Linked DNA regions of Homo sapiens: regions 1, 2, 3, 5, 6 and 7 are each linked to region 4. The links are contacts of gene promoters, found by promoter capture Hi-C in blood cells and fetal thymus (Javierre and others, 2016). All regions are on one chromosome and are shown on one strand. Each heading gives the region's core, a stretch centred on a gene start or on the middle of the fragment in contact. The rest is flanking DNA. Distances are from core to core; before and after follow the strand shown.

Region 1 (3,665 bases), core at 1,133-3,632, 170 kb after region 4:
TGTGAGCCACCATGCCTGGCCTAATAGTTCTTGCTGTACTTAAAATACCAGGGGAGGGAGGCAGTCTGATGCCACCCTCTCCCTTTTTTTTTTTGTCAGGATGTACAATTTTCTATGATGCTTACCTGAAATTTGGAGAAGACTTTAAACAGGGGGAGATGCATTTGAGTTTTCCTCCTTTGGGACCCAGCTCTCTGGCCTTGAGCCCTTTTCTCTGGGACATATGAACCTGAATTTGGGGTCTGAGGCTTTTCGGACAGGAGAGAACAAAGTGGTGCTGGGAGACTGATGGGGGGGCAGGGAGGGGTGCTGGCAGGAGATAGGATGTAGGCAAGGATAGAAGGAGGGTAGAAGGGAGGGTGTTGCCTAGAACTCTAGAAAAAAGGGGGCAGTGTCTCCTGGAGGGAAAAAAGTAGTATTCTTAAAATGCCTCTCAGCACCCAGTGACCTGGTGGCCTCCAAGTGGTATCATCACCAGTGCTAATAAACATGTCTCTGCTCTAGGCAAGACAGGAGGTGAATAGGTGACGATTCAGATTTAGACCTGAAAACACAACAGGGGTTTATTTGTTTTAGAAGAGGATTACCCATATGACACTTTCAGCCAGCTGCCCTTAGAGACTTAAAATAAGATTGTATTTAAAAGAAAAATGGGTTTTGCATGCCTTTTGAGGCATTCAGTGGTTCTCATGTCTCCCCTTTGAGCAATGCCCTGTACATCCTGGATGGTCATTTTGGCAGGTAAGCTCCAGGGAAAAGGTAAAAGTGCTAGGGTGTCCACACTCCTGGCAAGAGCCCTAGAAAACAGGGTAAACAGTCCAAAGAGGGGGGTCTAGTCAGACTGGGCTCTGGTAGGGACTTGCAAAGCTAGGTGTGGCGCCTCCGCTTTGTAACCAAGAACCCCCAGTTCCTTGTAATCCCCCTCACAAGTTACTACAGGAAGTGAGGTAGGAAGGTTTTATGGGGACCCAGGCAGGCAGGAGGCATTCTGGGGAAGGTGGTGTTGGCTCAAATCCTGGGCCTCATGTCCCTTCTCTGGTTGTATCTTCCATGCTAGAAGAGCACCTCTTTCTGATGAGGAGTCAACGACAGGCGACTGCCAGCACTTTGGATCTCAGGAGTTTTGTGTCAGCAGCAGTTTTTCCAAGGTAAGAGGCTTTATGGAGCCACGTGCTGTCCACCAAAGGATGGAGCTGAGCTGCCTGGGAGGTGTGCCCAGCCTGCCATCCCAGGAAGTGGGCAGGAAGGGACAGGGTCTCTCCCAGGAGTTGGTATTGGTGGGACACAAATTGGCTGGCTGCCCTCTGCGTCTTCCGAGACCTGGTTGGTCGAGTTGCAGAGAAGACCAGCAGTTGCCTCTCGGGCCTCAGGACACTTGCACCATCTGCAGGGAGCTGGCTGAGATGTGCATGCTATCCTGTCGTTGCAGGTGGAGCTCACGGCAGTTGGAAGTGGCAGCAATGCCCGGGGGGCAGACCCAGATGGCAGTGCTACAGAAAAACTTGGGCACAAGTCAGAAGACAAGCCTGACGATCCCCAGCCAAAAATGGACTACGCTGGGAACGTGGCAGAGGCTGAGGGCCTCTTGGTGCCCCTGAGCAGCCCAGGAGACGGGCTCAAGCTTCCCGCATCTGACAGCGCCGAGGCCAGCAACAGCAGGGCCGACTGCTCCTGGACTCCACTCAACACCCAAATGAGCAAACAGGTTGACTGCTCACCCGCCGGAGTAAAGGCTTTGGACTCTCGGCAAGGTGTTGGAGAGAAGAATACTTTCATTTTGGCAACTCTGGGAACTGGAGTCCCTGTGGAGGGGACCCTGCCCCTGGTTACCACTAACTTCAGTCCTCTGCCAGCCCCTATCTGTCCCCCTGCTCCCGGTTCGGCCTCTGTGCCCCACTCTGTTCCAGATGCATTCCAGGTTCCCCTCTCCGTCCCTGCCCCAGTCCCCCATTCAGGGCTTGTTCCAGTCCAAGTTGCCACTTCGGTTCCAGCTCCTTCCCCTCCCTTAGCACCTGTCCCGGCTCTGGCTCCAGCGCCACCGTCAGTGCCCACGCTCATCTCTGACTCGAACCCCCTTTCTGTTTCGGCCTCAGTCTTGGTGCCTGTGCCAGCTTCTGCTCCCCCTTCAGGCCCGGTTCCCTTGTCGGCTCCAGCTCCTGCCCCGCTTTCAGTCCCAGTTTCAGCTCCTCCCTTGGCTCTCATCCAGGCTCCTGTGCCCCCTTCAGCTCCGACCTTGGTTCTCGCTCCCGTCCCCACTCCGGTTCTGGCTCCCATGCCAGCATCCACGCCTCCAGCGGCCCCTGCCCCTCCGTCTGTGCCCATGCCCACTCCAACCCCATCTTCCGGCCCACCTTCTACCCCCACCCTCATCCCCGCCTTTGCTCCTACACCGGTGCCTGCACCCACCCCAGCCCCCATCTTTACTCCAGCCCCTACACCCATGCCTGCTGCCACGCCAGCTGCCATTCCCACCTCTGCACCCATCCCGGCCTCCTTCAGTTTGAGTAGAGTGTGCTTTCCTGCAGCTCAGGCACCAGCTATGCAAAAAGTCCCCCTGTCCTTTCAGCCAGGGACAGTGCTGACCCCGAGCCAGCCGCTGGTATATATCCCGCCTCCAAGCTGTGGGCAGCCACTCAGTGTGGCCACACTGCCAACCACTCTAGGGGTTTCCTCCACTCTTACGCTCCCTGTCCTGCCGTCCTACCTGCAGGACAGGTGTCTCCCAGGCGTGCTAGCCTCCCCCGAGCTCCGTTCTTACCCGTATGCATTTTCTGTGGCCCGGCCTCTGACTTCGGATTCCAAGCTGGTATCTCTGGAGGTGAACAGGCTCCCCTGCACTTCCCCATCCGGTAGCACCACCACCCAGCCTGCACCCGATGGGGTCCCTGGGCCTTTGGCAGATACCTCCCTTGTTACTGCTTCTGCCAAGGTGCTTCCAACTCCACAGCCTCTGCTGCCAGCCCCCAGTGGGAGCTCAGCCCCACCGCACCCCGCCAAGATGCCCAGTGGCACCGAGCAGCAAACAGAAGGGACTTCCGTTACCTTCTCTCCTCTTAAGTCACCGCCACAGCTGGAACGAGAGATGGCCTCTCCACCTGAGTGCAGCGAGATGCCCCTTGATCTGTCCTCCAAGTCCAACCGCCAGAAGCTTCCATTGCCGAACCAGCGCAAGACACCCCCCATGCCTGTGTTGACCCCCGTGCACACCAGCAGCAAGGCCCTCCTCTCCACAGTCCTGTCTAGGTCTCAGCGCACAACCCAGGCTGCCGGTGGCAATGTCACCTCCTGCCTGGGCTCCACTTCCTCGCCCTTTGTCATCTTTCCCGAGATCGTGAGGAATGGGGACCCGAGCACCTGGGTGAAGAACTCAACTGCACTGATCAGCACCATTCCTGGCACCTACGTGGGAGTGGCCAACCCAGTGCCTGCATCCCTGCTGCTGAACAAAGACCCCAACCTGGGCCTCAACCGTGACCCCCGCCATCTCCCCAAGCAGGAGCCCATCTCCATCATTGATCAAGGAGAGCCTAAGGGCACTGGTGCCACGTGTGGCAAAAAGGGCAGCCAGGCTGGTGCTGAGGGACAGCCAAGCACAGTGAAACGATATACTCCAGCCCGCATTGCCCCTGGGCTGCCAGGGTGCCAAACCAAGGAACTCTCTTTGT
Region 2 (3,785 bases), core at 487-2,986, 220 kb before region 4:
AGTGACCATGACTTTTTTGTATACATCATAGCACATAGCATGGAGGTAGATGTTGGCTTTGCCTGTAGTAGAAGCTTCCTTAATTCTTTTTGGTTGAATCAAGGGTTGGGAGATGGGAAATAAAGCTATAGTCATTCTGGTTATATTTTTCTTAACTTTTACGATTTTGATCATGCGAGTGGATCTCTGAGTCATCAGGGCCCTCTATGCCCCTTGAGATCTAAATGACATTGCTTTGAGCCCCCTTCTACCCCTGTGCCATGAACAGTGCAAGTCAAGACCCCAGCCCAAGATATTTTTGAATTTCTAAGTGAGTTACTATTTGCAAGGCACTTAGAAGAGTATCTGGTACATAGTAAGCACTCTGCCAAGCATTAGGAATTAATATTGAAATCCTTGAATGAACAGTTGCCTTAGAGCTTAGTGTTTGGCCAGTGAAGCTCAGCAAGGCCCTCTGGGAAATGGGCAGCATTGTCTGGGCTGGGTCTGGTCAGAGGGGCATGGCTACTTTTTCTTGATCCAGGCCTGGGGTGAGTGTTGCTACTGCACCCCTTAAAGTGCTGTGAGACCCATTGTCCTCCAGTGCTTAAAGACTGAGCTTGAAGTCACCTTCCTTTTCCCACTCTAAGCCACCTTCCCTTAGAGTGGAAGAAGAGGGAAGAGTTATATCCTCATGGCCTTCTTACCACCCACGTTCTGCAGCTCTGAGCTTGGTCTCTGCTTTCACACTGTTGACCAAAGCACCAGACCTAGACCCTTTCTCAGTTCCCACCAAGAAAATGTGAGTAGTGGAATCTACTAAAGATCTTTGGTGGGATGAAATCCTGGGAGGTGGATGTGGTCACCTCACACAGTGGACAGCCTTCCCACACCTCTCTGGCTCCTCTGTCCCCTTTTCTCCCTGCTCCTCTCTTTCCCTCCAGGGTTTCCGAAGTTGCTCCAAATTCTTCCCCTGCCCCCTGAGGCCTTGGCACCTATAAAGGGTATTAAATCAGGGATGGGTATCACTTTCTACTCTTCAGAGCTTATCTAAGTATTTTTTACCAACATAGGTAGTCTTGCCCTGTGCATTCTGGTGCCAGCCCTTAAGCAATATATGAGCAAGGCCCTTCCTGTCTCTGGACCTTAGTTTCATGATCTGTAAAATGGACTGGAATCACTAGACCAGCCCTGTCCAATAGATAATAATGCAATATGTAATTTTAAATTTTCTAGTAGCCACATTGAAAAAAATAAACTGAAGAACTTAGTTATTTTTATCCTTTAGAGTAGCCACGGGGAAGCCACTGAGGAATTTTTAAACAGTGTTATTGAGATACAATTTACATATAATAAGGTGTTCATATCTAAAGTGTACAATTTGACACGTTTCGATATATGTAGACCTCCCTGAAACCATCACCACAATCAAGAGGGTGAACCACATGCAACATTCCCGGAAGATTCCTCGTGTCCCTTTGTAATTATGTATATTTAATAGTATATTTTTAATTTAATTTGGTATATCCAAAATATTATCATTTTAACATGTAATCAATATAAAATATTAGTGAGATCTTTTACATTCTTTTTTTTTTTTCATAGAAAGTCTTCAGATTCCATTGTGTGTTTTACCCTTGGAGAACATTCTGTTTTGTGGTAGCCACGTTTCAAGTGCTCCATAGCCACATGTGGCTCATGGTGACGGTTCTGGACAGCAAGGTCCATGTGATCTGTAAGCACCTTTCCCTCTCTCATGTTGAAGGCCTCCATGTGTCTATATTTCCTGACGTGTGTTCTTATCATTGATTACTACTGCTGTTGCTGCTGTGTGCACAGCCCAGGAGGTGGCCTTGCTGCCTGCCATCTGGTGGGGACCCATAGTCCCCACCACCCCACCTCGGCTGGGGCAATTGCAGGAAAACCACTTGTTGGAAACCCTCTTATACCATCGAATTCCAGAGTAGGCTCTGGATGGGGCCATCTCTGTTAACAACAGAGTTGAGGTAGATCAATTGTAAGGTGTGTTACTAATAAAAAGTATCAAAGTTTGCAAAGAAGTGACTTTGCATCATAAAAGAGGTTAGATTCAAGATTATTCTTATTACAAATAAGGGAGGCGTTATCCCTAGAATAAAGTCACTTTCCCTCTGACCCATATTCTTAAATGGGAGAACAAAGGGGGCAGAGGATGCTATTGCTTCTATGCTGGGAACCTTAGCCTGTCTTCCCTGTGCTAAAATCTTGAGCGACGTGAAGGTTCACTAAGGGAGTGGCCATGATTACTACAAATTTGGAGGACAGGTTATTATCACAACCTATGTCAATGGGAGCATGCTTAGAGGGCGCTGCACTGCAAAAAATATGGAGGAAACATGTAACAGGGGACTAAGGTGAGACAGATTCTCCAGACAGAGAGGCCTCAATTTGCCTGGGGCCTGGTGCTATTCGCTGAAGCACCTATAGAAGACTTGGAGGCTAAGCAATGCCCAGTTAGCCCGCCCTGGTGTGGGCCCAGTGAAACAGCAAGAGGGTAAGTACACCTTCCAGGCCCAGATGCCCTCAGGACCAGCCCTACTTTTGGCAAAGGAAGCATAAGCCTGGGTTCAGGCAGGGAAAGAGCTACAGACAGTTGTCTTTGGCTGGCACAGTAGTTCACATCTATAATCTCACCAATTTGGAAGGTTGAGTCAGGAAGATTACTTGAGACCAGGAGTTCAAGACCAGCCTGGGCAACATAGAAAGACCCCCATCTCTACAAAAAATAAATCAGCCGGGTGTGGTGACACCGGCCTGTAGTCCCAGCTACTCAGGAGGCTGAGGCAGGAGGATTGCTTGAACCAGGAGGTCGAGGCTGCAGTGAGCCATGATCGCACTACTGCATTCCATTCTGGGTGACAGAGAGAGACCCTGTCTGTAAAAACAAAAACAGAAAAAAAGACAATGGCCTTAATCTCCCCCTGCTTTCCCTAGGCCTAAAAGGTACCCTGCCTTTTAGGCAGGGTGAATCGGGTGGGGGCTGCCTGCCTTCCTCAGAGAGAGGGAAGGAAGCAAGGAGTAGGGGGTCTGACTGGGGCCCTACAGCTCCCAACCTCAAGACCTGCCTTTTGAGGCCATAGAGAAGCTGCAGCTTTGCTTTTGCAGCTGCAGCGGCAGTGAAGAAAGCAGGAGGGCATCCTGAGGCGGGAAATGCCTGTCAGTGTCATCCCCAGCTGCTTCCGGCTTCCTCCTTCAAGGATTCCAGGGGCTCCTCTGTAACCTTGCCAACCCCTCTCCCCTGCCCCAGGTTCTGGCAGGCAGCTGTGCGCCCCCCCTCAGGGCCCACGTCACAAGTCCTCAGAGGGGCTGTCAACTCCCCATTGTTCTCGGGGCTTCTGGGGCTTCTCCGGCATTCCTTTGGCTCATGAGGGGAAATGCCTGAAGCTTCGTCTTCACCTCTTCAGATGCTTGACCTAATAGTCACCCGGCCCTCCTGGCCCCTCAAGGGATGCTGTGGTGCGTGGGAGAATCTGGCTAGGCTAGCACTACAAGTACACTTACCTCAGGTCAAAGATGAAATCTGAGGGGGTACCTAGGCCTCTGTGTCTTGAACTCACCTTGAAGGCCCCAGCCAAGTATTTCCCCCTCTCCCTCCTGAGTATTGCACACAGCTACCCGCAGAGTTACATAAACACAGCCATACTCCTCCATTCCAAATTCTACCCATTCCACACAGTTCTGTACATGCTCTCACATGCACACTCCCACCCAACCCATCTTTCCAGGGGAGCCATCAGGTGTGTCAGGGCCAGAAGCTACTTTTGCTG
Region 3 (3,871 bases), core at 1,270-3,769, 180 kb before region 4:
TCTTTAGTTTCTTACATTTGATTTCCCTAGACCCCATCAAGTCATAATCTCCTTCCTGCAGGGAAGGGATACTTCCACCTCTTCCTCCATATCCTCTTAGCTCCTTGCATTTGGGTCAAGAGACCTAAAAAGGCCATTTCTTATTTCCATCTTGTCTTCCATTGTTTTATCCCCTGGGATATCTCTGCATTCATGGCCCTGAGATGCCTCACTGGTCTGGAATGCTCAGGGCAAGCCGATCCTCTGAATCATAGACAAAGAAACTGGAAAGAGGAGTGCTCATTAGGCTGTCATTTCCCCAGTTTCCTCCACTGACCTGGATGTCTTTCCACTGGTTTGGTGGTGTGCTTCCCCACTCTGTCCCACTGGATTTTGAGGTTCAGTCTACACAGCCCCAGAGAGGTGAATAACAAAAGCATGTCTACGCATAATCCAAGCAAAATCCTCAGTTTTGTCTCAATGATTTGGGCATCCCAGTACAAAGGACTACTTCAGTAGCAGGCTTTGGGATAATTTTCTCTAATAGTTACCACAGAATTGAAGCTGGAAAGGACCTTGAAGTTTATCTGTTCAAAGACACCCTCCTTTTTTGTTTATAGCGCTATAGAGGTATAATTGACATACAATACCTGCACAAGTTTCATGCAGTGTACAAAAGTGTACAATTTGCTAAGCTTTTACATATACATACTCTCATGAAACCATCACCACTATCAAGTTTTCATCAATCCCTACAGTTTCCTTCTGCCTCTTTGTAAACTCTCCATCCAGCCCCTCCCCTCTGCTCCATCTCCAAGCAATCACTTGGGGATAATGCTTTCAAGCAGTCACCTGGGGATGGAGGAGAGGGGAGGGGCTGGAGGGAGGGTTTACTTGTTAATATATAGTTTGCATTTTCTAGAATTTTTAATAAACAGAATAACACAATACGTACTCTGTTTTTGCTGGCTTCTTTCACACAGAAAAATTATTTTGGGATTTATTCCTGCTGTTGTATGTATTAACAGTGTTTTGTGTATCAGCAGGTCATTACTTTTGAATGGCTGAGTGGTTTCCACCATATTTTGTTTATTCATTCATGTGTTGATGCACATGGATGGTTTTTTTTTTCTAGATGTTGGCTATTGCCAATAAAACTGCTATGAATATTCATATACAAGTCTCTGTATGGACAAAGACTTTCATTTCCCTTGGGAAAATACCTAGGAGTGGAATGCTAAGCCATATGGTAGATGTCTGTTTAACTTTTATAACACTACCAAACCATTTTTCAAAATGGTCATACCATTTAACATTCTCACCAGTAGTGTATGAGAATTCCAGTTCCTCCATATCCTCACCAACACTTGGTGTGGTCAGTCTTTTGTTTGTTTTCTTTATTGTGGTGAAAGGTATATATAACAAAATTTACCATTTAGACCTTTTTAAGAAGACTTCATTTACATATTTTTTAATTGTAGGTAATTACACATAACAAATTTTAACTGTTGTTAAGTTTATATTTTGTCAGCATTAAGTATATTCACATTGCTCTGCAACCATTACCACCATCCATCTCCACACCTTTTTCACCTTTCCAAACTGAAACACTGTACCCATTAAACATTAACTTTCCATTTGCGCCTTCCCCAGCCCCTGGCAACCACCATTCTACTTTCTGTCTCTATGACTGTAACTACTCTACTACCTCACATAATTGGAATAGTACTTCAGTCAGTCTTTTTAACTTTAGCCATTCGAATAGATCTGTAGTGGTATCTCACTGTGGTTTTAATTTTTATCTCCTTAATGGCTAATGAGGAAAGCATCTTTATATGTGTTTATTTGCCATCCAGATATCTTATTTGGTGAATTGTCTGTTCAAATATTTAGTCCATTTTTTATTGGTTGGTTTTCTTAGTATTGAATTATTTTAACAACTTTATTGAGATATAATTCACATACCATACAATTCACCAGTTTAAAGTGTACAATTCAATGGTTTTTAGTATAGTTACAGAGTTGTGCAACCATCACCATAATCTAATATTAGAACATTTTTATTATCCCAGAAGGAAACTCCATATCCATTACCAGTCACTTCCCATTCCCCTACCCTTCCATCCCCTGGCAACCAATAACCTTCTTTCTGTCCCTATAGATTTGCCTTTTCTGAACATTCGTATGAATGGAGTCATACAATGTTGGCCTTTTGTGTCTGGCTTCTTTCACTAGCATAATGCTTTCAAGGTTCATCCATGTTGTGGCATGTATGAGAAATTTATCCCCTTTTACTGCCAAATCATATCCAATTGTTTGGATATGCCACATTTTATCTATCCATTTATCAGTTGATGGATATTTGGGTTGTTTTTATTTTTGACTATTATGAATAATGCTCTATGAACATTTGTGTACATATTTTTGTGTGGATGTATGTCTTCAATTCTCTCAGGAATATACCTACAAATATGTACTTGGGCCATATGACAACTCCATGTTTAACCATTTGAAGAACTGCTAAACTGTTTTCCATAGCAACAGTACCACTTTCCATTCCCACCAGCAATGTATGAGGGTTCCAATTTCTCTATATCCTACCCAAACACTTATTTCTGTTTTTGTTTTTATTATAGCCATTCTAGTGTGTGTGAAGAGGTATTTCATTGTGGTTTTGATTTTCATTTCCCTTATGACTAATGATGTTTTATGTGCTTGTTGGTCTTTTGTGTATCTTTGGAGAAATGAGCCTTTGCCCACTTTTTGATTGGGTTGTCTTTTTATTGTTGAGTTGTAAGAGTTCATTACATGTTTTGGATACTAGGCTCTTATCAGATATATGATTTGTAATTTTTTCTCTTATTCCATGGGTTGTCTTTTTTCTTTTTCACTTTCTTAATAGTGTTCTTTGATGCACAAAAGTTCTTCATTTTGATGAAGTGAAATTTATCTGTATTTTCCTTGGTGCTTTTGGTGTTATATCTAAGAAACAACTAATCTAAGAGCACACAGATTTATACCTATGTTCTAAGACTTTTATAGTTTGACCTCACGTTTAGGTCTATGCTCTATTTTGAGTACATTTTTATGTGTGATGTAGGAAAGGAGATCAACTTCATTGTTTTGCATGTGGATATCCACTTGTCCCAGCACCATTTGTTGAAAAGACTATTCTTTCTCTCATTGAATTGTAAACAGTATTGTTTCTAAATTTCAGTTTCCAATTGTTTGTTGCTAGCATATAGAAATAAAGTTGACTTATATATATTAATTTTGTACCCAGAAACCTTGCTAATGTCATGTATTAGTTCTAGTAGATTTCTTGTAGATCCTTCTAGATTTTCTATATACATGATCATGTTATCTACAAATAAAGACAGTTTTACTGTTTTACTTCTTCCTTTTTTATCTAGATGCCTCTTATTTCATTTTCTTGCCTCATTGCACTGGCTAGAACTTCCAGTAAAATATCGAATAAGGGCAGACATTTTTTGTCTATCTCCTGATCTTAGGGGGAAAGAATTCAGTAGTCAACCGTTACATGTTAACTGTGGGTTTTTCATAATACACTTCCTCAAGTTGAGATTGTTTCCTTCTATTCCTAGTTTGTTGAGAGTTTTTCTTAAAAAGGATGTTGGATTTTGTCAAGTGCTTTTTCTGCATCTACTGAGATAATCCTATGGTTTTTTTCTCTCCTTTTGTTTATTAATGTGGCAAATTACATTGCTTGATTTTCAAATGTTAAGCCGACTTTGCCTTGCTGGGATAAACCCCACTTGATCGTGGGTGTATCCTCCTATTTCTATATTGTTAGATTTGATTTGCTACAATTTTAGCATAGATGTTTATAAGGGATACTGCTCTGTAGTTTTCTCATAACATCTTTTTCCTT
Region 4 (3,908 bases), core at 138-2,637:
TATGCCACAGTGTTCTTTCAACATCATTAAAAGGACTCTAAAAATAATAGTAGAGTTTCTGTCCTTATAAAACCTCCCTCCCTTCCTCCACTTCACCTTCTTTCTTCAATTAGCCACTCGAATATGAATCACAGCAGGGAACAAGTCACCCTCTGGCAGGGCCAGGAGGTTCTGGACGCTCTGTGCACATACGTGCATTGTATTTACACAAAACAGATTTCCCCTCATCAAACCCTCTGCAACTTCCTGAGTCCGGGAAATGAAACAATCTGGCTGGTCTAGCCTAACATTTGTGAGAATCTTAATGAAACCACATCAGAGACCTGTAGGTGAAAGGCTGACTTAAGCAGGAGAGATTCTGGAATGGTTGGTGACTGCTGATGGCTGGTTGGGGGGTGGGGAATGGCAGCAGCTAAGAAAAGTCACAAGGGCGCTTTCTGGGACATGTCCTAAGTACCATCTCTACTCAGCATCCTGAATTCCCAGGCCCAGAGTTTCTCAGCCTCTGCTACCCTTCTCCTCCGCTCAGGTGTGGTGTTGTGGCCTCTATTTACCGACACCACATGCCCCACGCTGGCAGGACTGAGGCGGAAGCCTGCAGCCCGACGGACGGAGGGAGAAACAGCCAACTCGCGGGCTGGAGAGGGCAAAGGTCCAAAAACAGCCTAGGAGCGGAGCAGGGAAACGAGAAGGTAGAAGGTTCGGGGAAGGGGAGGGGGGCCCAGAGGTGCAGAGAACCCGTCCTTTGTGTAAAACTAACCTGGAAGACAATCTCCTCCCGATAAACCGGCCCAGCGGGAGAAGGGAGACCAGGAAGGGGGAGCCGGCCTGGAAGAACAAAGATCAAAATCCGTCGGGAAGCAGCGACCGGCTCCCCAGCGGGGGGCCGGAGGCCGGAGGCCGGAGTCCGGGGCCGAGCCGCGGGCGCGGCCTCTCGAGGCCCGCCCTGACTCCGCCACGCCGCGGACCACCGCCCCAGGCAGGTTGGGACGCGCGCCACATCCACACGCACACGCAGCCACACGCTCGTACACACTCACACACGCCCCGCCACGTGTAGTCACCCCGGGCCAGGGGCTCGGCGGCTGCCGAGTTGAGAAGGGCGGTGCCGACGTCCCCGCCTCCAGGCGCCGCGGAAGGGGAGGCAGCCCACCCTGCAGCCGAGCCCAGGAGACCCCCGCCCCCACCCCTCGTTACCTGAACCACGGAGACCCAACTCGGCCGGCAGCTGACGGCAGGAAACGGACCGTCCCAGGGAATCACGTCGGCAGCCAAAGGTGGCAGCGACTTGTCCTCCCCGGGCCGGGAGGCTGTCTCCTCCTGACAAGGGGCCCCAGTGGTCGGGGCCCTAAACCAGCTGTGGCAACCGCCCACCACTGGCCAAATGGAACGCTCCTCACGTCACCAGGTCGCTCCAGTAGTTGCTCGCCCTCTATTGGCCGATCGGCCTCGGCGCCTCCGCCCCGGCCGCCCCTATCCCGAACTGCCATTGGTTTTGCCTAACGCCACTCGACGATGCCTCCGCCCACTCCTCCACCCATCTCCCTGCTGCATGCCCACCTGCCAAGCCACTGCCAGCCTCTCTTTGGGGTCTGAGCGCCAGTATGTGAAGTGTTGCCTTCTATTAATATAGTTACGCAGAGACGGAGGTTAAGGGTAGTGCCGATGGGACAGCAAAGGGTGGAACCAGCCTACACACACGCGCGCGCGCGCGCACACACACACACGCGCGCGCACACACACACACAGTGAGATGCTGAAGCAACACTAGCTCACAGATCCGGGTGCTCACCCCAAACTAGGTCTGCCATGGGCCTCTCCAGCCCTGCTTGCATTTTAAAATCAACCGCAACTTGAGATTTTACTCTTTATCGGCATAAAAACAAGTCATCTGCCTCCCAAGTCTCATTCAGTAGCCAGGGACCCCATATCTGTCCCAGTCACCCTAGCCTGCATCTCTAAGTCTTTCAAATCAAAACACACAAACAAGCATAAAAAGCATGTTGTAAAGGATAAATGTCCCCAAGAACGTATTATCATTTTGCAGCACCTAAAACAACTAATTGACATTAATGGAGTTAAAGAAACTCCACTGAGGACATAAATTCTTCCAGGTAGGTAATGAAGTAAAGATTGCCAAAAAGGTTGTAAATTTTTATTCGGTTTGGAAAGCTTATGATGATTAAGGGGAGAATCCAAGGCAGAATTCCCACCCACCAACCAGATTGATTTTTTCCTTCTGCCACCCAGCTCTGCATTACTGCCACCATGAGCCACTGCTACTGATCCGAGTGAGTTGCATGCATTAAAAGTTTGAGATTGGGCTGGGCGCGGTGGCTCACGCCTGTAATCCCAGCACTTTGGGAGGCCGAGGCAGGTGGATCACCTGAGGTCAGGAGTTCAAGACCAGCCTGGCCAACATGGCAAAACCCGTCTCTACTAGAAAGACAAAAGTTAGCGGGGAGCGGTGGGACTCGCCTGTAGTCCCAGCTACCAGGGAGGCTGAGGCAGGAGGATCACTTGAACCCAGGAGGTGAAGGTTGCAGTGAGCCAAGATCATGCCACTGCACTCCAGCCTGGGCGACAGAGAGAGACCCTGTCTTAAAAAAAAAAAAAAAAAAGTTTGAGATTGAAGGGGGGAAACAATTGAGAACCACAGTATTATACTATAGGGTGACTTTAAAAGACACTAGGTCTGTTTTCACCAGTATGGCTCCTGCCTTCCAAATATAAGAGGAAATATGAGAAAAGGTTGAAGGTGGCATCTCCTTTCCAAGTGTAAGAGGAGATAAGAGAAAAGGTTGAAGATTGGAGGAGAATGCCTACATTACCAGCCTAGGTTTTCCTAAGCGTGATAAAAATTTCAAAGTTTTAGAGATTTGGTATTTGGAATTAGTACAGAAGAGACTGCCAAAGCTCTTCCTAAGGCAGTTGTATGTTAGTTGAAGGACCACATACATGGTCAAGAACTATTTTTCCTTTACAGTATATGTGTCCCACACAATATGAAACAAAAAGCTACATAATAATTACATTTGACACTTTCATGGCACCCTTCAAAATTCTTAAAGGATTTAAAAAACACTAGGTAATTCTGAGATGTGTTGTAATTAACTTGCAAAGGAAGGTTTGTCTTTATAAAGCTTCCATTGTTCCTTAGCACTCATGCTGATTATGATCAACAGTTTATTCCTCATGAAGTGTACGATCAGTATCATTGCCTCCAATTCTCCCGCTTTGAATTCTGGAGGGTGCTGGTATTGCACACACTTGGTATGGGAGGGAGAAGAACTTCCCTAAACCTCATCAGCCCTGTGGATTTCCAAGCCTATGTATATCAGATGCCCTTAGGAATAGTATGGTCACCCCAGCTGCCATCCTTCTGACTATGGAGCAGTGAAAAATAAGCCTCTGTAGCACTCAAACATATTTTGTCCATAGCTCAGGTGCAGGTGAAGCCTGAGGAGTCCTGGAATCGATGTGTCATGGTGACACATTCCTGAGCTCTGTCCCTCCCTGCTCTGGGTCACATTCCCTCTCGGACTAAGTGGCTATGTGAGTCAGGCTTGTTTTATTACAATCTGTTATTATTTATTCTCAACACTCAAAGAAAAATAAGGAAAATTTATGTGGACAAACATCCCATAGTACTTCCTCCTATGTAGTTACATCATTTTATATAATCCTTAAAGTCTTAATACACACACACAACTAAATTGTGACTATAAACTGAGACTGTTTTTTCCTATTCTTTTCTCTTCTCTTTTCAACAGACTTCCCACTTTTTACATCCAAGTCAGTGTTGGCTCTTTTGAAAAGAGGTTATAGGCCGGGCACAGTGGCTCACGTCTGTAATCCCAGCACTATGGGAGGCCAAGGCAGGCAGATCACTTGAGGACAGGAGTTTG
Region 5 (3,511 bases), core at 336-2,835, 190 kb after region 4:
TGCCCTCTGGCCTCCCCCAGTGATTCCTGTCCCTCCCACATGCAAAGTATGCCACCTCTCCCAGTGCCCCCCAAAGCTTCATCCAATTATAGCATCACCTCCAGGTCGAGAATCTCTTCTATTTATTTATTTATTTATTTATTTATTTATTTATTTATTTATTTGTAATGGAGTTTCACTCTTGTTGCCCAAGCTGGAGTGCAGTGGCTCTATCTGGGCTCACTGCAACCTCTGCCTCCCAGGTTCAAGTAATTCTCCTGCCTCAGCCTTTCGAATAGCTGGGATTACAGGTACCTGGCACCACTCCCGGCTAATTTTTTGTACTTTTAGTAGAGATGGGGTTTCACCATATTGGCCAGGCTAATCTCGAACTCCTGACATCTGGTGATCCACCCGCTTCAGCCTTCCAAAGTGCTGGGATTACAGGTGTGAGCCACCATGCCCGGCAATTTTTTTTCTTTTCTTCTCTCTTTTTTTTTTTTTTTGTAACAGAGTCTCACTCCATCACCCAGGCTGGAGCGCAGTGCCGCAATCTTGGCATACTGCAACCTCCCCCTCCCGGGCTCAAGTGATTCTCATGCCTCAGCCTCCTGAGTAGCTGGAACTATAGGCGTGTACCACCACGCCCAGCTGATTTTTTGTATTTTTAGTAGAGGCTGGGTTTCACTGTGTTGGCCAGGCTGGTCTTGAACTCCTGTCCTCAACTGATCTGCCTGCCTTAGCCTCCCAAACTGCTGGGATTATAGGCGTGAGCCACCGCTCCCGGCCTCTCCTAGTGTTTTGTGAGCACCTACCCTGCTCACAGTTCTGGAGCCTTTGTAGTTCATTATCTCAAAGACCCTGCAAGGAAGAAAGTGGGGCTCAGAGAGGGAGGGCCTTGCCCCAGGTCTTCTAGCTAGGGGATGGCAGAGGCAAGGTTCAAGCCCAGGTCTGCCTTAGATCTTTCTACCACCCCAGGGGAGTCTGAGTATGATATGGGGACACAGTGTGATGGAAGATGGGAACATTCTGTGAGGACTGGATGTGGAAGGAAGGTTTTTGCTACAAGTGTGAAGCTTTAGCAGCTGTGACTAGTCAAAGATAGCCGGCCGGGCATGGTGGCTCATGCCTGTAATCCCAGCACTTTGGGAGGCCGAGGCAGGCGGATCACTTGAGATCAGGAGTTCGAGACCAGACTGGCCAATGTGGCGAAACCCCTCTCTACTAAAAATGCAAAAATTAGCTGGGCATGGTGGCGCATACCTGTAATCCCAGCTACTCAGGAGGCTGAGGGAGGAGAATCCCTTGAACCTGGGAGGCAGAGGTTGCAGTGAGCAGAGATCACACCACTGCACTCCAGCCTCAGTGACAAAGTGAGACTCGGTCTCAAAAAAAGAAAAAAAAAAGATAGCTGTCTCATTTCTCTTTACTCTCAGAGTTTGCTTCTGCCTATTTACAGATAGGACTTATAAAAACCTCAATAAATGGTGATTGAGGCAGGTAAAGAAGGCATGCAGAGTCTTGAGAGAAGCTAGGATATCCCCTCAATCTCTGATTTACAATCCCTGTGGCATTCCTTGGTTTATGGGGTTGAGCATTTGAACCTCTTCATATCTCCCCACCGGCTACAAACTCATGGGAACCTGTGTTGATCCTGGAGAGACTTCACATGGTTAGCGCCTGGCCCAGCGTCTGGCCTCAAACCTGACAGTAGTCTCGGCCATTTAGGGTAGTGTAAGCAAAGTACAGCATGGACACAGATAAGGTGAGATGGCCTTGGCCACTGAGGGCAGTGATGACCCTGGTGGATGGATAAGCTGCCTGGCCTGACCTGACCTAGGACTGCATCTCTGCTTTCCAGGGCAAAGGTCGTTGGAGCCAGCAGAAGACACGATCTCCCAAATCTCCCACCCCAGTGAAACCCACAGAACCATGTACACCCTCTAAGTCCCGAAGTGCCAGCTCAGAGGAGGCCTCAGAGTCACCTACAGCCCGGCAGATCCCCCCAGAGGCACGTCGGCTCATAGTGAACAAAAATGCTGGTGAGACCCTCCTGCAGAGGGCGGCGCGTCTTGGCTATAAGGTAAGGGAGTTTTCGACTGACCACAGGGCGCCGTTGGTCTGAGCATCTATGAAGAAGCTTTTCTCCATGGGCTCTTCTGGTGCTTGAACCCAGGCTGGCCTCCCTCTACACCCCAGATTGCCCTGGGGCTGCCTTGCCCCTCATCACTTGGATGTCAGCGTGTGAGAATGCAAACTTGCTTGAATGTCAATTTGGGATGAATGCAATTGAAATGGTATCATGCAGTATATTCCTAGACCAGGAACGCAATTTTTGGATATCCACGTTGTCTTAAATTTCTCTGTATGGTGGTTTCCCAACTCAGAAAGGAACAAGGGGTGATTTATTGCTCACTCTTCATCTCCTCCTCCAGCTTCCCCTCATTTTCGCCTCTCGCAGAGGGGCCAGGATCATGTTTGAGGGGCGAGGCTGAGCTAACCCCACCTTATACTACTACCCTATAGATTAGAAAGAAGGCAAGAAAGGAAGCTGGCATTTATTGAGCACTTCTTTTGTCATGTGAAGAGCCTGATTACTTTGTATCATTTAATCTCACAGTAAGCCGATGGAGTAGATTTATTATCCCCATTTTATAGGTGAGAAAATCGAGGCTTTGCAGTGTTACTGATATGTCTAAGATCACTCAACTACTACGCATATGAGTCTGAATTCAAACCAAGGTCTTTTGATTCCCAAGTGCCAGGGTAGGTGGAAGACTGACTCATTCACCATAATTCAGTTACACCTTGGACGTTTCCATTGTTCCCCACTTTTTATTGAGTGTGTATCTTTGCCTACCATATGGATTATTTCCTCAGGGTATGCTCCTAGCAGTGGAGTTGCTGGGTTAGTTACAGAGTGTGCCTTTGGTTTTAAGGCTTTCCATCCCTATACCTGAGTTGTTTCACACCAGCCACACTCCCAGCCAGACTGGTCAGCTCTGGGGAGCTGACGTGACAGTGTCTCACTGGCAAGCAGCCCATCTTTCATGAGCACCTAGTGTGCGTGCCTGGATAGCTGCCGAGGGAGACCTAAAACAAAAATCAAGACCAATCCCTGCCGTCAAGGTTAATTTAATTGTCTTGTACCCTGGGCAAAACCAGCCAACAGGAAACCATTGGAGGGGCCAATGGGACAGGGCTGGAGCACTAAGGCAGCCTGTCAGGGAGGGTGGAAGGAGCCCTTTTGGGCCTGGGGGAAGAGGCAGACATCTGCACTGGTGAGGAGGGTGGGAAGCCTCGGGCTTTCTCCCGGGTAAAGGAGCTTGACAGTTTCTATATACAGCCAGCAGCACCCCTGACACAGGCTGCACACACAGCCGCTCTAGCCAGCTAGCCTGTGAGCTGTCAGACAGAAAGGTGGAGTGGCCCATCTCCCCAGTGCCCCAGAGAGGACTGGCAATGGTGCAGCTATGGGATCCATTGTTTGGAAAGCCAGGCAGCCATTAATGCTGCCAGCCTCTCCCCTCCT
Region 6 (3,775 bases), core at 586-3,085, 200 kb before region 4:
GAATAAGCAGGCTTGGAGAAGAAAGAGAGGCCGACTGCAAAGAAAGGGAAACATATAAGAAGTTTCCAGAGTGTCCGGCCATCAAGCTGACCCAGATGCATGTAGCCAGCCACTCCTGTGGGTGAGGAATTCTCAGCCCCTCATATTCAGCTGGTGAATTGATAGAGTCTGGGGCAAGTTATCAGAAGAGGATGTCTTAGTGACCATAGTACATCCTGCTTGCCCAGCCTAGAGCCACAGAGGGAATCAGCCAGCACACAGGAGTTCAGTGGAATCTCTCATTCTGCAAGTCACAGCCTCTCTCAGGGCCTGCTTCGTTGTCTGTGAAATGGGTTTAACAATAAATCACATCTGCTTCCTCCCACCTTGGTGCTTTGGACACAAGCCCTGTGCTCCCTCTGCTGAGACCTCCTTTCTCCAGCTTAACCCCTACTCACTCCTGAGGTGTCAGCTCCCACTTCACCTCCAGGAAGCTTTCTCTGACCCCAGATCGTGCACTCAGTGATAAACTTCCTAGAGGCCTGTTTTTCGCCTCCAGGGCCCTTGCCACAGTTCCTGGTTAGACATTCGGTTGTGATTTTTGAATAACATCTGTTTCCCTCTCCAGGTATTAAGGAATGTGGTACAAAGTAGGCCCTCAATAAACATTCAGCGAATGCTGAGAAATGAATTCCCATAGCTCTTTTACAGATCAAAAAGCACTTTCACATGCAAACAGGGTGGTCTTCATGGTACCCGCTGAGAACGATGGGGTTTTTTCCCCGTTACACACACAGCACTCTCTACTGTACCAAACATTTTAACTTCAGAAACTTCAGTCACTAGAAGCCCGAGAGGGAGCCAGGGATTCTTACTTCCATTTTAGAAAAGGTAAAGCTGAGGCCTAGAAAGGTGAAGTGACTGACCCAGGCTTGGAACTTGGAGGAGTCAGGATGTTTAAGTCTCCGCATCCCATGCTGGAAGGTATGATCATTACATTCCCTCATTATCACTGTCAGCATCGTCACCTCCATTGTGGCTATGGCCATGCCTAGTCTGGTGAGGAGGTGTACAGTTGGCGAGCACAAAGGCTTTTGAAGGTGGCGGGCAGAAGTCTGGGTTCCAATTCTGGCCTCACCTGCAGGTGACCATCGGGGCTAGGAGAGCATCCAGGGAGGATTCATGGGGGAGGGGAGCCTTGGCTGGCAGTTGGAGGACCCGGAGAATTGGAGGAAGGTGGAGAACCTGGGAAGGGAAGTCTGGGGAAACTAGAAGAGCACTGGAAATGGGTTTTGGGTGACTTAGGCTGAGGCTTTCCCTGCTTCTGCTTCCTAAAAGATGGGTATGAAGCTCCCTCCCTCGCAGGTCCTGCTGAGGCCGGTGCGCAGGCTCAGGGCCAGGAGAACATCCCTGGGGTTGCGGGGGAGTGGTACAGAGGGCGCTGTGGCTACAACAGCTAATGAGGGATGTCACACCCTCACCACACACCTTTCGCTGGTGCCTCCCAGAGGAAAGGTGAGGACCAAGTCTTTCTCCACTGTTCCTCCTCCACTGTCCCTTGCATGGTGTCCTGCACAGAGTAGGCGTTTTTTTTTTTTCTTTTGCTGTTGTTTGTTTTGCTTGTTTGTTTGAGATGGAGTCTTGCTCTGTCGTCCAGGCTGGAGTGTAGTGGTGCAACCTCCGCCTCCCAGGTTCAACGGATTCTCCCGCCTCAGCCTCCTGAGTAGCTGGGACTACAGGTGCCCACCACCACACGCAGCTAATTTTTGTATTTTGTAGAGACGGGTTTTTGCCATGTTGGCCAGGATAGTCTCGAACTCCTGACCTCAGATGATCCACCCACTTCGGCCTCCCAAACTGCTGGGATTACAGGCATGAGCCACCACGCCTGGCCAAGGGTAGGCATTTTTTAGCTGATTGTTTTGGGGTAGGGGTAGGCCAAAGAGCTCTTTATAGGCTTGGGTTCTAAAAGTTTGGGCATAGATTGAGAGAAGGGGAGCTCCTTTTGAAACTTACACAAGGCATGGGACCTAAAACTTGACAGGCAATTTGGGAGTGGGAATGGGGGTGGGGCAGGCTGTGGAGCTGAGCTAGAGGGTAGCCCAGAGTAGAGGGAAGGATGAAAGAGGATAATCAGATCAGAAGGTCTCTGCAGTGCTGGAGGTGGAAGGGGCTGTGTGGTGAGATTCCCTCCTCCATCCCCCTGCACTCCTCACTGGGACCTTTTTCCTCCCTGCTTTGTTTATCCTCTCTTATCTTTCCATATCCCTCACATCTGAGGAGTTGGGAATTTCCAAAGGAGAGAGGAACTCCAGGCTTCCAGAAAGCTCAGGAGCCTAGAGACATGGGGGATGAAACCCCCCATAACGTATGCCAAAGTCACCAGCCTCTATCCCTACACCTGCTGGGGAGGGAGCCAGAGATGTCTCTGCCTAGATGGAAAAAGAGGCACCCTCTTTCCAACAGGCCTCTCACAGCCCCCAAATCACAAGCAGTTCTGTTGCCCTGGGACTGAGGGTGCCAAAGCGAAGCCCCTCCCCTACAGACGAGAGGTGACTGCAGCCCTGGAGGGAATGCTTGGCATTTCAGCAGTGCCTTTGCCTTCCTTTAAAGCAATGCCACCTTGTTTCTCTCAGTTCGTTTGCACATACCACAGAAGATCTTTAGACTAATGGCTTACCTTCTCAGTGACTCAGTTTCCTCAGCTATAAAATGGGATTGTGATGGGGACTGACTAAGTCAGGACAGGTGAAGTTCCTCAAACAGTGCTTGGCACATGAGAAGCGCTCTACATGAGTTTGCTAGGACTATCTAGCTATGTTCCTTAAGCGTTCACTTATCCTTTCTGAGTCCCACTTTCTTCATTTGTAAAAATAACAGGGCTTAGGGTACTGAATGATCTCTCAGGCTCATGTCAGCTCTGCCCTTCTATGATTCTGTGTGTTTAAGGTAGGGAAAGCAGAGATTGTCATCCTATGAAAATAGATGAGGGAGAACCAGGACCCCTGATAGATGAACAGACCTGCCTGGAGTCACACAGCCAGTTACTGACCAAGCTGGGGTTAGGATCCAGAGCTCAGAACCCCAAGTTTCACACCACCAGGCTAGCTCTGCAGCAGTGTGCCAATTTTTTAACATTCAGGGAAGATCAGAAAGCATTTAATTTGTGCAAAGGGAGAAGTATGGAATGGAGGTTCCAGCAGGCCCTGGGGTTATGGGAAGCTTGTGCAACCCACGTAACCCAGCAGTGGACTTCCTCACTGGCTTAGGTTCCCATTTTCCTGCCATATGCCTAATTCTTCTCCCAGAGCTCCTCCCTACAGGTCCCTGGGTCAGGTCCTGAATTGCCTCTGGAGGGCAGCCTGAATCACCCCCCACTGTTAGCTGGGACCCCAACAAATCCCTAGTCACAAGCAGGTGCTTCACATCTACCCACCCAGGTGTCCTGGGCAGGTGAGGAGGCTGAGACCCAGAAAGGGCCAAGGAAAGACTTTGCTAAGCTACCCAGCAAGCCCTGGGTAGAAGCAGATTCAGGACTGGAACCCACGTTTCTGAGCCCCTGGCCTTGTGCAGAAAGGAACCCCAATGGCCAAGCAGGTGTGCTGGAACAGGTGCCTGGCTCCACAATTCCAGACAGATCAGGTGCTAATGGTGAGCACTTAACACCTTTGGAGAGGCCTCCTGGGCTGCTGCCCAAGCTAAGCTTCTACAAGGAAAAATGCCGAGGACGTAATCTGTCCCTGGGGAGGCCCTAAAGGTTATCTGGGAGACCGGAAATTTCTAGTGACTGAGGCAC
Region 7 (3,446 bases), core at 816-3,315, 210 kb after region 4:
AGTTTAGGCCTTTCTCCACGGCTCCCCCTCTGCTGGGGAAGATCTTGGAGAGCAAGGAGGCCAGGGAAGCAAGAGTAAGAACAGGAGAAGGGAAGGCAGCCAGGGTTGGCAGGGGCGGGAGTCGGAGGAAAGACTGGTCCCAGCAGATGGCAAATGCCAGGTCACAGGGGCGCAGGCTAAGTCCCCAAGAAGCCTGCTAAGAGTTTTAGGTTCTAGAATGCCCCTTTGCCTCCTGTTTGTGTTATTTTGGAAGAGGTGGTCACTGATTGCGTGCTCACCATTTAGCTGAAAGCCGGGCCAGGCATTGCAGGGGACAGGAGAAGACATTTGCCTCAGCTATACCCAAGGAGCCTGTGGTTTAGCAGGGGACGGGGGAGCCAGACTGGCAGTGAGTTATAATGGGAGACATTGATGGTCGTGCAGCCTTTGTGGGCTTTGCAGAGTGTTCTGGGTCGGTGCCCCCACCGCTTCCTCCAGCCTCCTTCAATAACTCCCATCCTTGCCTTTGCAGGCCCTGCAACTGGTTCCTCTTTTCCGATGTCTTGAAGAGGCTGAAGCTTTCCTCGAGGATCTTTCAGGCCCGGTTCCCGCACTTTGAAATCACCACCATGCCCAAGGCCGAGTTCTACAGGCAGGTGGCCTCCAGTCAGCTGCTGACCCCTGCCGAGAGGCCTGGAGGCTTGGACGACAGATCCCCCCCAGGCTCCTCTGAGACTGTGGAGCTGGTGCGGTACGAGCCAGACCTACTTCGGCTCCTAGGGTCCGAGGTGGAATTCCAGTCTTGCAACAGTTGACCGGGAAAACAGCCCCTCCTCTTCTTTCTCCTTCCGAGTTCGCCCTTCCCCCACCTCCTTGTCTTTCCCCGACCGAGCACCAGACTGCAGAATGAGGCAATAATACGGACCAACAAGAAGCCGCCTTATCAATGCCAGCATTAGCGACTGGACTGTTTTTGTTTTTTTGGTTACAATTAGTTCTCATCTCCCTGTCGTCGTCATTGTTATCGTGGTTGCTGATGGGGGTGGAAAGTTGAACTCCATGTCTGAGGACAAGAGGTCCCGGGGGTGGTGGGAGGTGGCGCCGGGGTCCCTTGGACTGGCCTCCTTGTTCATGACCAAGACCAAACCTGGGCCCTGGATGGCCTTGGCCTGTCCCGAGGAGAAATGAGAAAATCCCAGATCTCTGAGCGCCCCCCAACTCCATTCCCCTGTGTTCTTCTGTCTTCTGTAGTATTTATTTTATTAGTATTTAATTTGTATTGTTTCATTGGTTTCTGATAAGTCTGTATCACTGTGACGATTTGAGACAACTTGTTGTATTGAGGGACTTTCTGTACCTCCTTTTCTTTTTCTTTGTTGATGAGCTCTGACAAAGCTATTCCCTGGTGTTTTTTTCCCCCACTGGGGAGGGGGTGAGGTGGAATGGGGTGGGGGAACATGGACTTGTGACTAACGAAGCTGGTTGCTGCTGGCCCAGGGCTGGGGGCTTGGGGGTAAATCCTGAGGCTTTGGTGCTCCCCCACCCACCCATTCCCGCCCTTTGCAGCAGCCCCGCTATCTTGAGATTAGTGTTGACAGGGAGGGGAGGATTGTGAGGTGAGGGGTTAATAAGTTACTCTAATAAAGGAGCGTGGAGAAGGGATCTGAGGGGTGAGGGTGGCCCCCCTCCTCACGCCTTCTTCACTGCCCCCCTCAGAGTGCACAATACGAGTTTGTTCCTGCCTCCACTCTCCCACCCCGTTCTGGCCTCCCTGTCTCAAGATACTGAGCCTCTCACCTCCCAGCCCTCAGCCACCCCCATCCCTGCCCCTTCTGAGACTCACAGCACCCCTTTCCTTCCTCTCCTCCCACCTCCTCCCTCAGCCCCTCATTCTCCTTGGGAATCTGCAGAGGGCTCTGGGACTCACTGCCGGATGTGAAATCCAGGCGTCAGCTGTTTCCTAGGCAAGGGCAGGAAAGTGGTCTCCAGCCCTTGCTCCACTCATGCCTGGGGGCCTGGGGCTGAGTGGTATCCCTACCTGGCCTCCCCCTGGCCTCTGGGCCTCCAGCGCTGGGTTTGTCGAGTGAGAGAGAGAGAGGAGCTTGGGTTGCTTCCCTGTCCCCGCCCCCTCTGTGGCATTGTCCCTCCCACTCTTATTTTTCTACCAATTGCTATTTTTCCGAACAATCCTTGTAGAGTATGTACCATCCAAAGGCAGGAGGGCCTCGCCGTGGCCGGCTCTGGTTGGAGATGGTACAGTTTTATTGTACAGGTGCTAAAACAACAACAACAAAAAAGAAAATGGAAAAAAAAAAGATTAAAAAAAAAAGGAAAAAAAAAAAGCCAGTTTGAGGATGGGACAATCTGTTCTCTAGAGGCTCCTGAGCCATGCGGGAGCATTGGTGGTTATTTTCTTTGTATTGTGTTTGTTCTTTGTTCCTGGGGGGGAAGTTCTCGGCCCCCTTCTGTAGGACTGCTCCCCACCCCCACCATACTGCCCAGTTGGTTTTGAACAGTTGTTTTCCCTTTTTAAGAAAAAAAAATACATATATATATACATATATATATATAAAGTTGAGGGGTTTTGGACTTTAATTTGTTGGTTTTGTTGGGGTTCCTGGTATTGTGTAGTTTATTTCATGTTCTGTTTGCCTTTCCTTTTTTCGCATTTGGGTGTATATTCTGGCTGCCCTTTATGTTTCATTTTAAGCAACTGGCTGTGGAGTCAAAAACACTTGCATACTGAAAAACCTGTGTCAGGGCTTCTGTCTCCCGTCTCTCTTTTTCTCTCCCGTCTCTCTTTTTCTCTCCTCCCCTTTGGGACTTTTTGGTGGTTTCAGAAGGTGGGCATTGTGATTCAGTAAATGGGGAGCCCCCGCCATCCTGCTTTGCAGCTGTGGGTCCCAAGGGGTACGATGAATAAAGGCAAGGTGGAGTGGCTAGTGAACATTGGGTCACGATCTGGAAAGAAAAAGAAAGGGGCAAATCCTGGGGGCGGGGCCAGTGGGGGCAAATGGAGCATCTGGCTCCTGTTGCTTTGGTTTGGGGTTGAAGCAGGTGCCTGGGCAGTCCTTGTTTACATAGGAGTAGCAGGGTTGGAGGAAGTAGCCTTCTCTGTGGTGGCTGTGGGAATAAGCCTCCTTAAGGAAGTCCCCTGCTTGCCCTAGGCCACCCTGCCGAGGTGGCATCTGGCTGCATGGCCTCATCACTGCCCTCACTGTTGTGCCAGTGCTCCCCACCCACGGTGCAGGCCTTCCATGGTTCTGTTTTCCTGCCACCGAGCTACCATGAAGGCAAGATGCCCATCCTGGATTTTGCAGTTTTTCCTCCCACTTCTGAAAAACAGTGGTAGAAGCTATGATTCTTGTGATTGCTGGTTCCAGAATGCACCAGTGACTGAGAGGAAGAGGATGTTCGAGAGGCCTGGGATGAGGCCCTTTGAAGCTCTATTCTCTTAGGGCTTCTCA

The links. Contacts are between HindIII fragments. The CHiCAGO score rates a contact against its expected background, and 5 or more counts as called.
Region 1: a fragment that was not itself captured here is called in contact with the fragment with the promoter of ZDHHC9 in region 4 in 2 of 17 cell types (non-activated CD4 T cells and activated CD4 T cells); the score reaches 7.8 in non-activated CD4 T cells.
Region 2: a fragment that was not itself captured here is called in contact with the fragment with the promoter of ZDHHC9 in region 4 in 16 of 17 cell types (neutrophils, activated CD4 T cells, non-activated CD4 T cells and 13 more); the score reaches 27.2 in neutrophils.
Region 3: a contact is called between a fragment that was not itself captured here and the fragment with the promoter of ZDHHC9 in region 4, in 11 of 17 cell types (non-activated CD4 T cells, activated CD4 T cells, total B cells and 8 more). The highest score is 20.9, in non-activated CD4 T cells.
Region 5: a fragment that was not itself captured here is called in contact with the fragment with the promoter of ZDHHC9 in region 4 in 7 of 17 cell types (activated CD4 T cells, total B cells, naive B cells and 4 more); the score reaches 8.6 in activated CD4 T cells.
Region 6: a contact is called between a fragment that was not itself captured here and the fragment with the promoter of ZDHHC9 in region 4, in 16 of 17 cell types (activated CD4 T cells, total B cells, non-activated CD4 T cells and 13 more). The highest score is 36.7, in activated CD4 T cells.
Region 7: a contact is called between a fragment that was not itself captured here and the fragment with the promoter of ZDHHC9 in region 4, in 13 of 17 cell types (M0 macrophages, activated CD4 T cells, neutrophils and 10 more). The highest score is 15.8, in M0 macrophages.

What each region holds. Positions count from the first base shown.
Region 1 is chrX:130,011,521-130,015,185 of GRCh38, forward strand. It overlaps BCORL1 (BCL6 corepressor like 1), which reads left to right. Exons shown (of 14, transcript NM_001379451.1): 3 at 1,058-1,148; 4 at 1,430-3,665. Among named protein-coding and RNA genes, the nearest start is that of BCORL1, 31 kb to the left of the region's middle. The HindIII fragment of the contact is 1,527 bases long and covers 1,620-3,146 here.
Region 2 is chrX:129,619,723-129,623,507 of GRCh38, forward strand. No RefSeq gene overlaps it. Among named protein-coding and RNA genes, the nearest start is that of APLN, 33 kb to the right of the region's middle. The HindIII fragment of the contact is 3,328 bases long and covers 73-3,400 here.
Region 3 is chrX:129,666,265-129,670,135 of GRCh38, forward strand. No RefSeq gene overlaps it. Among named protein-coding and RNA genes, the nearest start is that of APLN, 13 kb to the left of the region's middle. RefSeq lists an enhancer at 68-362 and a silencer at 68-362. The HindIII fragment of the contact is 3,694 bases long and covers 673-3,871 here.
Region 4 is chrX:129,842,499-129,846,406 of GRCh38, forward strand. ZDHHC9 (zDHHC palmitoyltransferase 9) reads right to left here and starts at 1,388. Exons shown (of 11, transcript NM_016032.4): 1 at 1,198-1,388; 2 at 761-828. The HindIII fragment of the contact is 4,624 bases long and covers 1-2,170 here.
Region 5 is chrX:130,032,615-130,036,125 of GRCh38, forward strand. It overlaps BCORL1 (BCL6 corepressor like 1), which reads left to right. Exons shown (of 14, transcript NM_001379451.1): 9 at 1,841-2,062. Among named protein-coding and RNA genes, the nearest start is that of BCORL1, 52 kb to the left of the region's middle. The HindIII fragment of the contact is 1,064 bases long and covers 1,054-2,117 here.
Region 6 is chrX:129,637,731-129,641,505 of GRCh38, forward strand. No RefSeq gene overlaps it. Among named protein-coding and RNA genes, the nearest start is that of APLN, 15 kb to the right of the region's middle. RefSeq lists a silencer at 1-41. The HindIII fragment of the contact is 2,728 bases long and covers 472-3,199 here.
Region 7 is chrX:130,055,343-130,058,788 of GRCh38, forward strand. BCORL1 (BCL6 corepressor like 1) reads left to right here. Exons shown (of 14, transcript NM_001379451.1): 14 at 512-2,729. The coding sequence ends at 794. Among named protein-coding and RNA genes, the nearest start is that of ELF4, 53 kb to the right of the region's middle. The HindIII fragment of the contact is 3,020 bases long and covers 556-3,446 here.